Linked DNA regions of Homo sapiens: region 2 is linked to region 1. The links are contacts of gene promoters, found by promoter capture Hi-C in blood cells and fetal thymus (Javierre and others, 2016). All regions are on one chromosome and are shown on one strand. Each heading gives the region's core, a stretch centred on a gene start or on the middle of the fragment in contact. The rest is flanking DNA. Distances are from core to core; before and after follow the strand shown. Region 1 holds the start of COPS7B (COP9 signalosome subunit 7B). Region 2 holds the start of CHRNG (cholinergic receptor nicotinic gamma subunit).

The links. Contacts are between HindIII fragments. The CHiCAGO score rates a contact against its expected background, and 5 or more counts as called.
Region 2: a contact is called between the fragment with the promoter of CHRNG here and the fragment with the promoter of COPS7B in region 1, in 4 of 17 cell types (M1 macrophages, erythroblasts, M2 macrophages and 1 more). The highest score is 8.2, in M1 macrophages.

The regions. Positions count from the first base shown.
Region 1 is chr2:231,784,892-231,791,482 of GRCh38, reverse strand. It overlaps COPS7B (COP9 signalosome subunit 7B), which reads right to left and starts at 5,038. Exons shown (of 7, transcript NM_022730.4): 1 at 4,945-5,038; 2 at 2,751-2,928. The coding sequence starts at 2,912. It also overlaps the pseudogene RPL28P2. RefSeq lists silencers at 4,781-5,040, 5,131-5,310, 5,321-5,400. The HindIII fragment of the contact is 4,652 bases long and covers 881-5,532 here.
Region 2 is chr2:232,535,918-232,542,692 of GRCh38, reverse strand. It overlaps CHRNG (cholinergic receptor nicotinic gamma subunit), which reads right to left and starts at 3,001. Exons shown (of 12, transcript NM_005199.5): 1 at 2,891-3,001; 2 at 2,562-2,701; 3 at 2,268-2,312; 4 at 1,982-2,091; 5 at 1,164-1,319; 6 at 173-270. The coding sequence starts at 2,945. CHRND (cholinergic receptor nicotinic delta subunit) reads right to left here. Exons shown (of 12, transcript NM_000751.3): 12 at 6,029-6,775. RefSeq lists an enhancer at 1,120-1,179. The HindIII fragment of the contact is 5,406 bases long and covers 1-3,866 here.

The DNA of each region.
Region 1 (6,591 bases), core at 3,789-6,288:
GCTTTTCTCTCACACACACATACAAAGCATTAAGCATTGGAAGGAGTTCAAATCTTCTCAAGATTCTGTTTGCATTAAAACAAAGACTGGAGCAGCCCTATCTACATACCAGCTTGGTAGGTATGGCATGAGCCACCACCAACCCAAAGTGAACAAAGCTCAGGGTTGGTTCCAAGTTTCAGGACTACACGTGGACTATGAACCCTGGGAGAGACCAGCACATCATAAGGTATGACAGAAAGCCAGGCTGGGACAGAAAACCAGGGTATCAGTCTGCCCCAAATCAAAATGTTCATTAAAATTACTTACTCTTCACTGATGCTGATGGCAAAAAGCCATGTGTAGAAGAAAAACGAAAGAGCCACTGTTCTGCCTGGAACTTCTCTGCTGTCAATTACGTTAACTGGTTGTTGTTGTTGTTGTTGTTGTTTAAATCACAAACGTGGGCCGGGCGCGGTGGCTCACGCCTGTAATCCCAGCACTTTGGGAGGCCGAGGCGGGTGGATCATGAGGTCAGGAGATCGAGACCATCCTGGCTAACAAGGTGAAACCCCGTCTCTACTAAAAATACAAAAAATTAGCCGGGCGCGGTGGCGGGCGCCTGTAGTCCCAGCTACTTGGGAGGCTGAGGCAGGAGAATGGCGTGAACCCGGGAAGCGGAGCTTGCAGTGAGCCGAGATTGCGCCACTGCAGTCCGCAGTCCGGCCTGGGCGACAGAGCGAGACTCCGTCTCAAAAAAAAAAAAAAAAAATCACAAACGTGCTCCTGTTACCCTTCCAACTTACCAAGCCCAGTAAACTCTAAACAGGAATAGCAAGTGGTAGTCTACAGACAGCAATAGCGATACTACTCAATTTTAGCCATTAAAAAAAATAAAGCTTCCAAGAAATGCATCTATAATTTCAGATCACTGAAAGGCAACCAGCTTATTCTCAGCTCACATATGGAAAAACGCAATGTATGGGGAGATAAAGGTGGTCTGCTAAGCACCCTATGGAGAACTCCAGCACCATAATACCTCAGGCTACTTTCTCAGGTTACCACAAACCTCCTGAAGTCCCTGAATCAGAAGGGGAAGAAACCTGGTAAAGACCATCCAATCTAGCCCCCCTTTTCAGAAACATAATTAACAAAACTAGCCGGAAAAGAGCATTTTCTCCAGAGCAGATACTCCAACACTTCTCCCACTGGCCTAAATCAATAAGGTCTTTCTGACTTTACTTTCCATCCATCTCCTCTTAGCCAATCTTCCACAGTTACAAAACAACTACTTGGCATATTCATGCAGGCTGTTCATGAACCTGAAGGAACATATTACCCCTTGGTCATCTCTTGTGTTGAAAAATGAACTCAGTTTTCTGAAATTTTCTTCATAAAACTCATTTTCCACTTCTGGTAAATTAAATTTTTATTGAAAGCCTACTGTGTGTCAGGCTACGTATTCAGCTCTAAAGAAACAATGGTGAGCACTACAGACCTCCTCACAGAGTTTATAGTTCGGCAAGCAAGGCTGACATTAAATAAAAATTTACAGTGAAAAAGTAAAAGTGGCTCTTCTCATCTCTGAACATCACAGGTAGAGGAGACATAATTGGGCACCTGAAATGGCTGGACTGTAGGGAACTGCTCCAGTTTCCCCATCAAGAGGAATAGGCAGACACACAGCACCGAATCCAATAAACTGAAGGCCGGCAACTCCTTTGGTTACAACTAACTGATTCACTGAAACTCCTGTTAAAACTGACTGTGGGTGTGGAGCCAACAGCAAAGGTGTTGTGGTGGTCATGAAGGTGATAAACTGCCCAACAAAAGCAAACCACCTCCTATATGCAAATCGCCACCACCAAGAACTCCGGGGCCACTCTCAACAGCATCCAGCACATGCTCCACAAGAAGTACCATCACCCAGATCTATGCATGGCAGCTTCCACAGAGCCAGCACCAGTCTGCATAGCCAGAAGCCTGTGAGGATGAAGAGGAAGGGGACCTGCCCCACCAATCCGCCAAAAGCTCCTGAGCACCAGCCTCCACCCCACAAAACAATAAAGATGCTTACAGACTTTTCTCAATAAGTGAATAAATATAAATAAATAAAAATGTTCAAATTGGAAAGTAGAGGTTGAGAAGTATAGATTGCTTTACATCTCTTTGTTCCTTCTGTTCAATGGATCTTCTCATTTTTGAGGCACAATGACCAAAACTGGATATCCAAGGTTTTAATAACAAGCAAGCAAACAAGTAAAATGAACTATGTCCTAGCTTTTCATGTCATATCTAACACATCTAACACATTTAGCACAACACTGCCCTTTTCCTCAAGAACAATACACTCCTATTCATGTCCATCTTATGTTCAATAGCAGTATGTTTCTGCTGTGTGTCCCTGACCAATCTTCCTTATCGATATTGCACTGGAGGTTTCTGGTCCTTAAGAATGCATGAATCTACTCCTATTAAACAGCCCATGCTTACAGCACTACTTTTCTAATTTATCAGGATCAATTTGACTTTTTTACTATCTTTTAGGTTATTATTAGCAACAATCTAATTTTACCCAAGGTAAGATAAAAATACTGGATAAAAGGAGCCAAGGATATTCTCTCAATCTCTCCCTCTGCCCCACCAATTCCCATCTGTCTCACAATAGGGTACCTCACAGGTTCACAATACTTCAGCACTGAAATTCTTTGGAAACCTGGAGAATTACAGAGTCTTAGAATAAAGAGAAATTGTTTGCAAACCGTTCTTACCTCCTGCACGTTGGCCAGCTCCAGAAGTTCTCCAAAGACATACACTCCGGGAGCCTCTAAGACCTGGCTTATGAGAGCAGTGAGGGCTGAGCCACTGGTACCTTTGGCTAGTAAAATAAACTGCTCCAGGAGATTACTTGAGGGTTTCTGTTCCCCTGCCATTCTCTGGCCTTGAAATCTGTCCAAAAGAAAATTGTGTCAGTCATTCTTCCTTCTCCTTTGCAAAGTCTGTGCCTATTCAGTGCTGAATCAAACACCAGAATACTTTACTTTTATAGTGTTGATAAAGAAAAAACAGGACAAGTGCAGTGGCTCATGCCTGTAATCCCAGCACTTTGGGAGGCTGAGGCGGGTGGATCACCTGAGGTGAGGAGTTCGAGACCAGTATGGGCAACATGGCAAAACCCCATCTCTACTAAAAATACAAAAATTAGCTAGGCTGGTGGCAGATACCTGTAGTCCCAGTTACTTGGGAGGCTGTGGCACAAGAATTGCTTGAACCCAGGAGGTGGAGGTTGCAGTGAGCCAAGATTGTGCCACTGCACTCCAGCCTGGGCAACAGAGCGAGACTGTCTCAAAAAAAAAAAAAAAAAAAACAGTTCCTGAGTCCAGATGCAATGACCACCTTATGAGATGGGTGGAGTTCAACCTGGAGTTAAAAGGATCTTGTCCTAAATTCTGGTGTTTGAAACACACTTTGTAAAAGTCATTTCACTTCCACCTGTCCCTCCTCCAGAGGCAACACCTTCTAAGTCCTTAAACCTGACCAGGACCTAAAGAAAAACACATGAGTTTCTCAGCAGCTGTTTTATATCCACCTCGTTTATACATTCTGGTTAAGAAATGGAGGATACTGCCTATACACAGAGGCACCGGATGTAAGCAAAAGCAATCAGTTACAGCTCCCACTGTGTCATCAGAATCCAATCTACAGCCAGACAGATAAGGAAAACAAAAAACCAGACAAGAAAGATGTCTCATTTAATCAAGTCAAGTAAGCACAGATAAAGGGAGACATCATTTTGAAAGAAAAGTAGCGATATATTCAAACTAAGAACATACATGCTGTGTAAGACCATGGGGAAAAATCCCTGTATTCGGCCTCCTCCTGATACGACATTTTAACCAAACGTGACTTCAGAATGTGTAAAAAAAAAAAAACCTCAAGAAAACGATAAAAAGATTTGGGAAAACAGTGAAAATATTGTATCAGCGCTCCGAAGACATTAAGTACAGGAGGGTCCCTCAATTGTGTAATCTAATTACACGCTGAGTGTACAGGAGTTCCAGGTAAGATTTCTCCTCCAAGAATGATACATATTAGAGCAGCGTGACAAAATGAACGAAAAACGGTATAGTAGAGTGCAGCAAAGAACAATTTGAAGAATAGTTTGGTGCAAGAGGAACTAAGTTTTGTGTTGGCAGGCACACAGATTAGTTGCCCTTTCACAGTATTAGAGAAACAAGTATGTCGCCTCACTTAGGGTTACCTAAGAAGGTCCGGCCAGACACAGGAAAAACAATGAAGTGCTGGGGAACAACGAGTTTGAGGACGGAAGGGAAAGGGAAAAGAGAAGGGGAGAGGATACGAGGAAGAAGGAAAGGAGTAGGGAAGAAAGGAGGGTCGGTGACGGTAAAGAGGGAAGGAGCGAAAAGGCCCTTCCAAGAGGACCCGTGTGAAGAGACAGATGGGGATCTCTGCAAAGAGTCCCAATGTTAGGAGGTGGGGGTGGAGAGGGGGTAGGGAAATGGAGAGAAACTTCTGTCCCTTCAAAAAATCTCGGCTTAAGGAGCAAAGCCTGTGGGCGCAGAGAATGTAAAGAGACGGAGACAGTCGCTTTCTTCTGGAGTGGGAGGGCCAGAGGCTAGGCACAGAGCGGAGATAAATTCCCGTCAGGGGAGGGCGCTATTTGGATGGACTGGAGAGGGGCAAACGAGCAGCCTTTGGGGATGGGAGAGCGAAAGCAGCCACAGCACTGAAGCTGAGGGTCGCAAGCTGCAGCAGACCTCACGGTGGGCGGTATGCTCCAAGCAGGGCCGCAGGCGTGGAGTGAGGAGCCGCGGGACGCGCTCCCCAAGGCGGGGGCGGGGCGGGCACGGCCGCGGGCTTCCTTGGCGGCGGGCTCTAAGCCGGATCGTCTGGCCGAGCCTGGAGCGCCGGCCCCGCTCGGCCCACCCTCTCGCTAGCTCCTACCTGTCCACGCCACCTCTCGGTCCTCTTAGTCGCTGGCTCGGCCTCCCGGCGCCTGCCCGCAGGTTGTCAAGCGTCCATGATCACCCCGGCGTCCGGCGCTTTTCTGTCTCCGCCGACCCGTCGCCCGTGCAGCTCCCCCGGAAGCCTCCCACCGCTGCACTCGCGTTCCGCCCACACAAGGTTCCACCCGCCGCGTTTACAGCCTTCGACCTCCGGTGGGGAAGTGGGAGCGAGGGGGCGGGGAAGAGTCTGCAGCCCGGGAACCAGGCGGGGAGGGGGTGGCTAGGGGCCCAAGGAGAGGAATGCGGCCTAGACGGTACTGCAGCCCAACCGTCGCCATCGCCATCCCGGGCCCCAAATCCTCCCCTTAGGCTGTGCTTTCTCTCTCAGGAGCTCCCCATGGCTACTGCGCTACCCCTGGGCACCGAGATACATTAAGCCTACTAACTACCACTTATTGAGCGTTTTACCATGTGCCAGGTGCTGTACATGCATTATCTCGTTGAATTCTCATAACTGTGGCTTGTATTATTGTTCCCATTTTTCAGGTGAGTTAACTAAGTCCAAAAGTCAGAAAGTGACAAAGCTTGCTATCTTTGTCAAACCCAGGCTATCTGAGGCCGAAGACGATGTTCTTGACCTCTATTCAGAAAATGTTTTAAAATAAGCAAGAGATGGGTTAAGCCAACAATGGTTCTATGACCAAAATGTCATTGATAGAGTTGCATCTGGTGCTTACCAACTCCCCTGGGAAGATGGCTAAGAAATGCCACATAATTGAACACTTAAACTGATTCCTGTATACACCACAGTCTTTCAGGTCTTGAAAATGAGAGAGAAAAACAGCCCTATTTGCCTATCGTGCGTTAGAATGCAGAAATGAGACAGGACAAATGCAAAGGAGCCTAGCATCAACCAACTCATTCATTTATTCAAAAACATTTCTTTAGCACCTATTATGTCCTGAAAAGTTATATGAAGATAAAACAAAGCTCTTACCCTCAAAAGCTCCAATGTGTTAAATGCTATGGGGAAGATATGACAACACTTTGGAAGCACAGAAGAGGTTGGGGAAGAAAAAAACAGACAAAAAGGGGAAAAAAGGGGGGTAGTGCCCATTGTCACAGAGGCTCGCACTGTGCAGCATATACTGATGTCAAAAAGAAACCCAGAGTGGTTTGACCCCAGGGTTTTCAAGAGTGAGAAATGAGGGGTACAGAGCTGGAGTCAGGTCATCAAAGGTCTTGGAATCCACATGCCAGGTACTGGGGAATTACTTAGGCTTTTTAAGCTAAGGAGAGGTATGAATAATTGCCTTGTTAGAGTGATCATGCTAGGTGCTATAGGAGTGGATTGGATGTGGAGAGAATTGGAGGCAGGGAAAACCTCCGGTGAGGTGACCGATTTATTCTAGATAAGAGATTGTGTTGCCGGGCGCGGTGGCTCACGCCTGTAATCCCAGCACTTTGGGAGGCCAAGGTGGGCAGATCACCTGAGGTCAGGAGTTCGAGACCGGCCTGGGCCACATGGCAAAACTCTGTCTCTACTAAAAATACAAAAATTAGCTGGGCATGGTGATGCACTACTAATCTCAGCTACTCTGGAGGCTGAGGCATGAGAATCGCTTGAACCCAGGAGGTGGAGGTT
Region 2 (6,775 bases), core at 1,752-4,251, 750 kb before region 1:
TGAGGAAAGTCAGAGCTTTGTTGGACGTTTTAAAAAGCATATTTTATGGTTTGCTGTAGTTTTCATTTTGAGTTACATGGGAGGGATTTGACCTTGGTCCAGCCTTGACCACAGCTGGGTCCAGCAGGAGCCCTGGATGAGGCTGCCTGGGGAGCCCTTGGGTGGGGGTTACCTGTGAAGGCCTCAGGGTCAATGAAAATCCACTCGATGGTCTGGCCATCTTCCTGACTCAGCTGCAGATCAATCTCATTGGTGCTGTAAGTCTGGGACCTGGGAGTCACCGAGGAAAGAGGCTAAATGTGAGCGGGTGGACCTGCCACGACTGCATGGGGATGACCTTCTGGGGACAAGTGTGGGCAGCTTTTCTTCAACAAAATGCAGCCCCACGCTTCTGAGTTCTCTATAAAACCCCACTGGCGAGATATGGAGAGCAGGAGGACCTAGGGCTCTTTGGGGTCAGGAAGATGGAGTTGAAGGCCCAGGAGGCTGCAGGGCCCTCACCTGGCTGATGGGCCCAGGGTCACTCTGCATTTGTCTCTCCCACTGCTGTCTGGCAGGAGGGGCTGATGATGGCAATGTAGAAAACACATGCCTACCTCAGGAGGACCCCCGTGTCTACAGAGGGGAGTCTCCCTGCCAGGTTTGCTCATGGAAAGACTGCTCCTCTAAGGTACAGGAGAACCCTCCCCCGGGCCCTCCTCCCCACACTTAGGTTTGAGGAAACAGACCCAGAGACCCCCAGGGGTGGCTTGGTTGCATACATGCTTCCGCTGGATTCCCTGCCAGGGCCCCTCTCTCACAGGACAGCCCTGCCTCCCTGTGGGCCTGGAGTGTGCAGTGGTTTCGTGTGTGCGCAGACACGCATCTTGTGTGCATGTGTGCCTTCTCACCCACGCACCCCAGGCGTGAATGTCTCCCCTTGGAGCACAGGTGAGGAAACTGAGGCAGTAAAGGATGAGTGAGGGGACTCGGGCTTAGCAGGGAGAGCTTGGGCACCTTCAGGTGTCTTAGCCTGAGATGGGCACAGAGGCCCAGGGGAGATGGAGCCAGGCCTCTAGGTGCTGCCAGAGCCAAGGCCAGAAGCCTTGCCCAGGCCTTACCCCACCACTGCCCAGGCCCCTCTGAGAGCAGCTCTCTTAATCCTCCCCAATAAATGGCCTCACTGGAAGATAAGGGAGCAGTTCTGCCAGTCGAAGGGGAAGTAGGTGACTGAGATAGAGCAGGCGGAACGGAAGATGGCAGGCGGCAGCCAGTAGATACAGCCGTCAGGGGACACGAGCACATTGCAGTAGAGGGCCACCTCGAAGACACCGTCCACGCTGTATGCACAGAACAGGCCAGGCCACGAGGCTGTGGGCTCAGCCCCCGACACCCCAGCCCCAGACCAGCCCCTGTGCCCCATGTGGATAGGGGCCTGGGGACACCAGTCCCTACCAGCCTGTCACCCCCTGACTGGTTCCCACCCGGACCACTAGGTCCCCCCAGCAATCCTCCTGCCACCCCCCGCCCCAGACAGACTTCCTCAGGCACCACCTCCTAATTTCTGCTTATCTTACTCTCTCTTGTTTTAATCATAATAATAATAATAATAATAATAGTCATAATAGCGACTAATGTGTTAAGCCCACACCATGTGCCAGCCCCCGAGTGATGCACTTTTCATGCCTGTCTTGTTGACTCTCGCCAGCTTCTATAGGACCCGTCAGCGGCCCCATGTTACAGGGAAGGGAGCAGCCCACCCAGGTGGCCCAGCCCAGAGGAGATGGAGCCTGGCGTAGGGTCTGCTCTGCTGGCCCTGGGGTCAGAGGGCATACCCAGGGCCCTGCCCTCGGCACCTGCTCCATCCAGTTCTTCCCTAGCCCCACAGGTGCCCGATTTGCACCCTCTGCTCATCTTTCTCTTTTCCCAGAGTGCCTTGTTCTGCTGGGCCCAGACCCTGTGTCCTTTGTCCCCCACACCCCTGCCTGCACCCCCTCCTCACTTGTTCTCCAGCACGATATCCGGCCGCCACACCATGGTGGACGGCACCCTCAGCACCCACAGGCCTTCGTAGTCTCGCGGATCCCAGCGCAGGCGATAGTCGCACCACTGCTGCAGGGGGAGGGGCAGTTGCTAGGCCTCTGCCCTCTGCTGCACCACAGCCCTAGGAGTGGGCATCCAGCCCAAGAGGACAGAAGAGGCAGGAACGGGGCAGGCAACTCTCAGGAGGCCTTGGGGTGGTGGGGTGGGACCCCTGATGGAAGGAGGGTGGCAGGGTGGCCTCTTACCATCTCTATCCAGACATTGGTGGTGAGGGCTTCCTCTCGCTCGTTCTGGGGGTGCAAGGGTGTAGTATGGAGGGCTCAGCCCCCGACTTCAGTGCCAGTCCCCACAGGCCACCAATGGGGCCAAGCATCCCCCAGCCTCTTGATAGTACTCCCCCCACAACCATGGGGGTTTTCCAGACCCCAGCCTGTCCGATTTAGGGCCCTCCAACCTCTTGGTGGCTGGAGCCACCCCATGCTATCCCCAGCAGGTCCCAGGGCGTGGTGCGCTGACCCCTCCTCCGTCCTGCGGCTTACCAGGGAGATGAGGTTGGTGAGGGTTAGCTTCAGGCTGACATTGACCACATCCGAGTCTCGTTCCGCGGGCCGCAGGTTGGGGTCGTAGTTTTGCATCAGGTCTGCGAGCAGGCGCTCCTCCTGGTTCCGGCCCTGGGCCCCTGCAATAGACAGGCGTGAGCCTAGCAGGAGCTTGGAGGTGGAAAGAGCGGGGAGGCCCTGGGGGTGTGAAGTGGGGACTCAGGGAACTGGGTCCAGGGCAGGCCCCAATACCCCTCAGACCCTCCATCCCCTGAGGCTGTGGACCCCAGCTCTGGGACTCCCCAGGCTGAGATTCCTTTGTGTCCCACCCAGGCAGACAGCCAGCAGCAGCAGGAGGAGCAGCGGCCCCTGGCCCCCATGCATGGTGCCTCAGCTCTCTGCAGTGACAGGGGTGGGACAACAGCTCCAAGGTCTGGGGCAGAGAGAGATGGGCTCTGGGTGTCATATAACAGCCTACACTCCCACCCCAGCCAGCCCAGCCAGCCCGGCCAGCCTGGCCCAGCCCCACCAGCTGTCTGACCACAGCGTTGTCAGCTGTTCCAGGATGGACACAATGCTGGGCTCAGGTTACCTGGGCTGGAGAGGGGAGACAGGGGCCCCGTCTGCCCCAAAAGAGACATCCACCTTCCAGCCCCAACTCGGGCTCAGTTGTCCCAGCCTCACCTCCATGTTCCACATGGGGGGCAAGGACAGCCAGGGCCAGCTGGGTGTGGTAGGGAAGGCAGGTCGCCGAGGAACCTGACAGCGGCTCCAGAGAGGGCTGAGGTGGACTGCCTCCTACTCCCTCCAGGGAGTCAGGATTTGGGTGGGTGTGAAGGCTGTTGGGTAGGCATGTGAGGGTTTTTGTGTTTGTTTGTTTGTTTGTTTTTTGCTGGAGTGCAGTGGTGCGATCTTGGCTCACTACAACCTCCACCTTGATTCTTCTACTTCAGCCTTCTGAGTAGCTGGGACTACTGGCATGCGCCAACACGCCTGGCTAATTTTTCTTCTTCTTCTTCTTTTTTCTTTTTTGTATTTTTAGTAGAGACGGGGTTTCACCATGTTGGCCAGGCCAGTCTTGGAACTCCTGAACTCAAGTGATCCACCCATCTTGGCCTGCCACTGGGCATCCCCCTCACTGGGCATCCCCCTCACTCGGCCTCCCCCTCACTCGGCATCCCCCTCACTCAGCATCCCTCTCCCTGAACTTCCCCCTCGCTGACCTTCCCCCTCACTGGGCTTCCCTTTCCCTGAGCTTCCTCCTCCCAGAGCTTCCCCCTCCCTGAGCTTCTCCCTCCCTAAGCTTCCCCCTCACTGGGCTTCCCTTTCCCTGAGCTTCCTCCTCTCTGAGCTTCCTCCTCCCTGAGCTTCCCCCTTCCTGAGCTTCCCCCTCCCTGGGCATCCCCCCCACTGAGCTTCTCTCTGTGTGGCCCACTTTTCCTGGAATTTACAAAGCCCTCGTTTCCTTCTCACTTCTGAGAGCCTTGCCTTTCCATTTTGCCCTCTGGTCCCCCTAGATGCAGTTTTCTTATCCTCTTTTGCAGACCAGTTTCTCTCCACCTCTTTACTCTCCTCCATGCCCACATTTTACCAAATTCAATGGCCTCCATGATCAGGAAGCACTGCCAAACAGTGGACCACCTGTCCCTGCATCCCCTACCCTCCACCCTCCTGTTTTCTCCCTTTCTCTGCTCTGGGAGAGATGGCCTAGAAGCCTTCTTGGTGTTCTCCGAAGGGTAAATCATCAATGAGGAATGGAAGTTTCTTGCAGGGGTTACGTGTGCAGGGACAGGACCCATTCAGAGAAAATCATCTGTAGAATTGTCTAACACTACTTCTCCTTTGCCACCCTCTGTTATAATGGCTGGTAGAGCAAGATACTCATTTCCTAGTCTCCCTTCAGATAGGCTAGCCATGTGATGTTTTGACCTGCGGGATGTCTACTGGAGCTTTATGGAAAAGTTGTTTTTTTTTTTTTCTTTGAGTTGGAGTTTCACTCTTGTCGCCAAGGCTGGAGTACAATGACTTGATCTCGGCTCACTGCAACCTCTGCCTCCTGGGTTCAAGCGATTCTCTTGCCTCAGCCGCCTGAGTAGCTGGGATTACAGGCGGGCGCCACCAAGCCCATCTAATTTTTGTATTTTTAGTAGAGAGGGGGTTTCACCATGTTCGTCAGGCTGGTCTTGAACTCTTGACCTTAGGTGATCCAGCCGCCTCAGCCTCCCAAAGTGCTGTGATTACAGGCGTGAGCCACTGTGCCCGGCCTATGGAAAAGTTTTGCTTCTTGATGAAAGGGGTCAGAAATGGCTGGCCCTTTTCTGCCTGAACATAGGTGCTAAGTGTGCAGCTGTGGCTGTCAGCTCACAAACTGGGGCCAACAGGTCTGAGGACAGAAGCCAACTTGCCATGGAGGCAGGGCTGGGCAGATGGCAAAATGCCTGGGTCCCTGATAGCTTTGTTAGACAGCCGAGCCAACATGATCACCTCCGCCTCCCTATTATTACTATGTGAGAAAAAGGAAACCTTATGTGTTTAAGCTACAATTCCTTCAGCTTTCTGTTCCTTGCAGGCCAGTGTATTACTGATTCACTGTCCATTGAAAGAGAGAGGGTAGCCCTGTTGGTCTGGAGAGAGTAAGGAACACTCTCTGGCTTCCCGGAAAGCTGTGCCTGTGAGCATGGCTTCCTGGGGACAGAAGATGGAGTTCTATGTCAGTCAGAGTGGACCAGTCCTGACAGCACCACCGTGCTGGGGGAGTGGGTGCCTCTGGTGGAAACTGTGGTGACCCTGGGAGCCTGTGCAGGAGGCACCCCCCCGGTTTTGTGTGACATTTTGGGGTTGTCTTCTCTGGAAGTCCACAGCCACTTGAGCAGGGCCTAATAGAACTGAGGACTCACCTGGTGGTTGAACCAAGACCTGCTGCCAGCAGCGCCACCATGAGGCAGAGAGAAGCAAAGACTGTGGCTGAGGGCCCTAGACTCTCTGTGCACAAGACGGACCCTCCCTGAGTTGATGGGCTATTCCTGGGGAAGTCTCAGATTTCCTGCTCACCTGACAGGTGTGAGAACAAACTGGCTTTCCTATTTAGACAGGACAATTAAAGATTTGTACCTTGAATTTTGTGAATAGTTCATGCTGGAAGGCAGAAGTTACTAGGGTCAGTTTTGGTTTTAAATGGTTTTTCTTTTTCCTTGGTTACATCTAAACATTAAAAATCTCACCTTCTGTATATCTGAGTTAATGAGGTCACCAATTCCCCCCTGAGGGAAATGGGTTAAATCACCACCCATTAAATGTGCAGGTCACATGAAAATGCTCCTACTAGAAATTCAATTTTCACAACACCCCATGACTAGGACTTACTAGACACACATTTTGCAGATTAGAAGATGGAAGGTGAGGAGTGAGATGAGGAGCAGCTCACTCAAGGTCACATTGCTGGTGTAACAAATGACACCAAAACGTTGTCACTTAAAACAACACACATTTATTATCTCACACAGTTTCTGGGGGTCAGGAATCCAGGAGTCACTTAGCTGGTGGTTCTGGCTTAGGGACTTTCATGGGGCTGCACATAAGATGTCTACTGGGCTGTGATCTCATCCGAAGGCCCTACTGGGGCAGAGGATCCACTTCCACATTCACTCACGTGGCTGTTGGCAGGAGGCCTTAGTTCCTTGCCATGTGGGCCTCTCCATAGGGCTCCTTAACATGCCAGCTGGCTTCCCCAAAGTGAGAGATCCAACTGATGTGAGAATGAGGGCTAATGAGCAAGAAAGAGGCCATAGTGTCTTTCCTAACCAAATCTGGGAAGTGAGGTACCATCACTTCTGCCTCATTCTATTGGTTACCCAGACCCACCCTGGTACAGAGTGAGGGGACTGCACAAGGGTGTGAATACTGGGCATCACTGGGGCCATCTTGGAGGTGGACCACCATACAAACAGACCCTTGTCTCCCAATTCCTGCAGCCTTGGCCTTTGGCCCTCAGGATAAGATTGAGTGGAGGCTGCCTTTGGGATAGGGTTGCTAGATTTAGCAAATAAAAATAGGGGACAAATTTCAGAGAAACAACGAATGATTTTTTAGAATATGTATGCCCCAAATAATGCATGACAACCCTAATTTGGAGAGGAGTAGGTGCTGGGGGGCAGGGACCCTTTGGGGAGAGGTGCTGCGTTCTGGTCCTCTAGGATTGTGTGTGCAACCTCAGG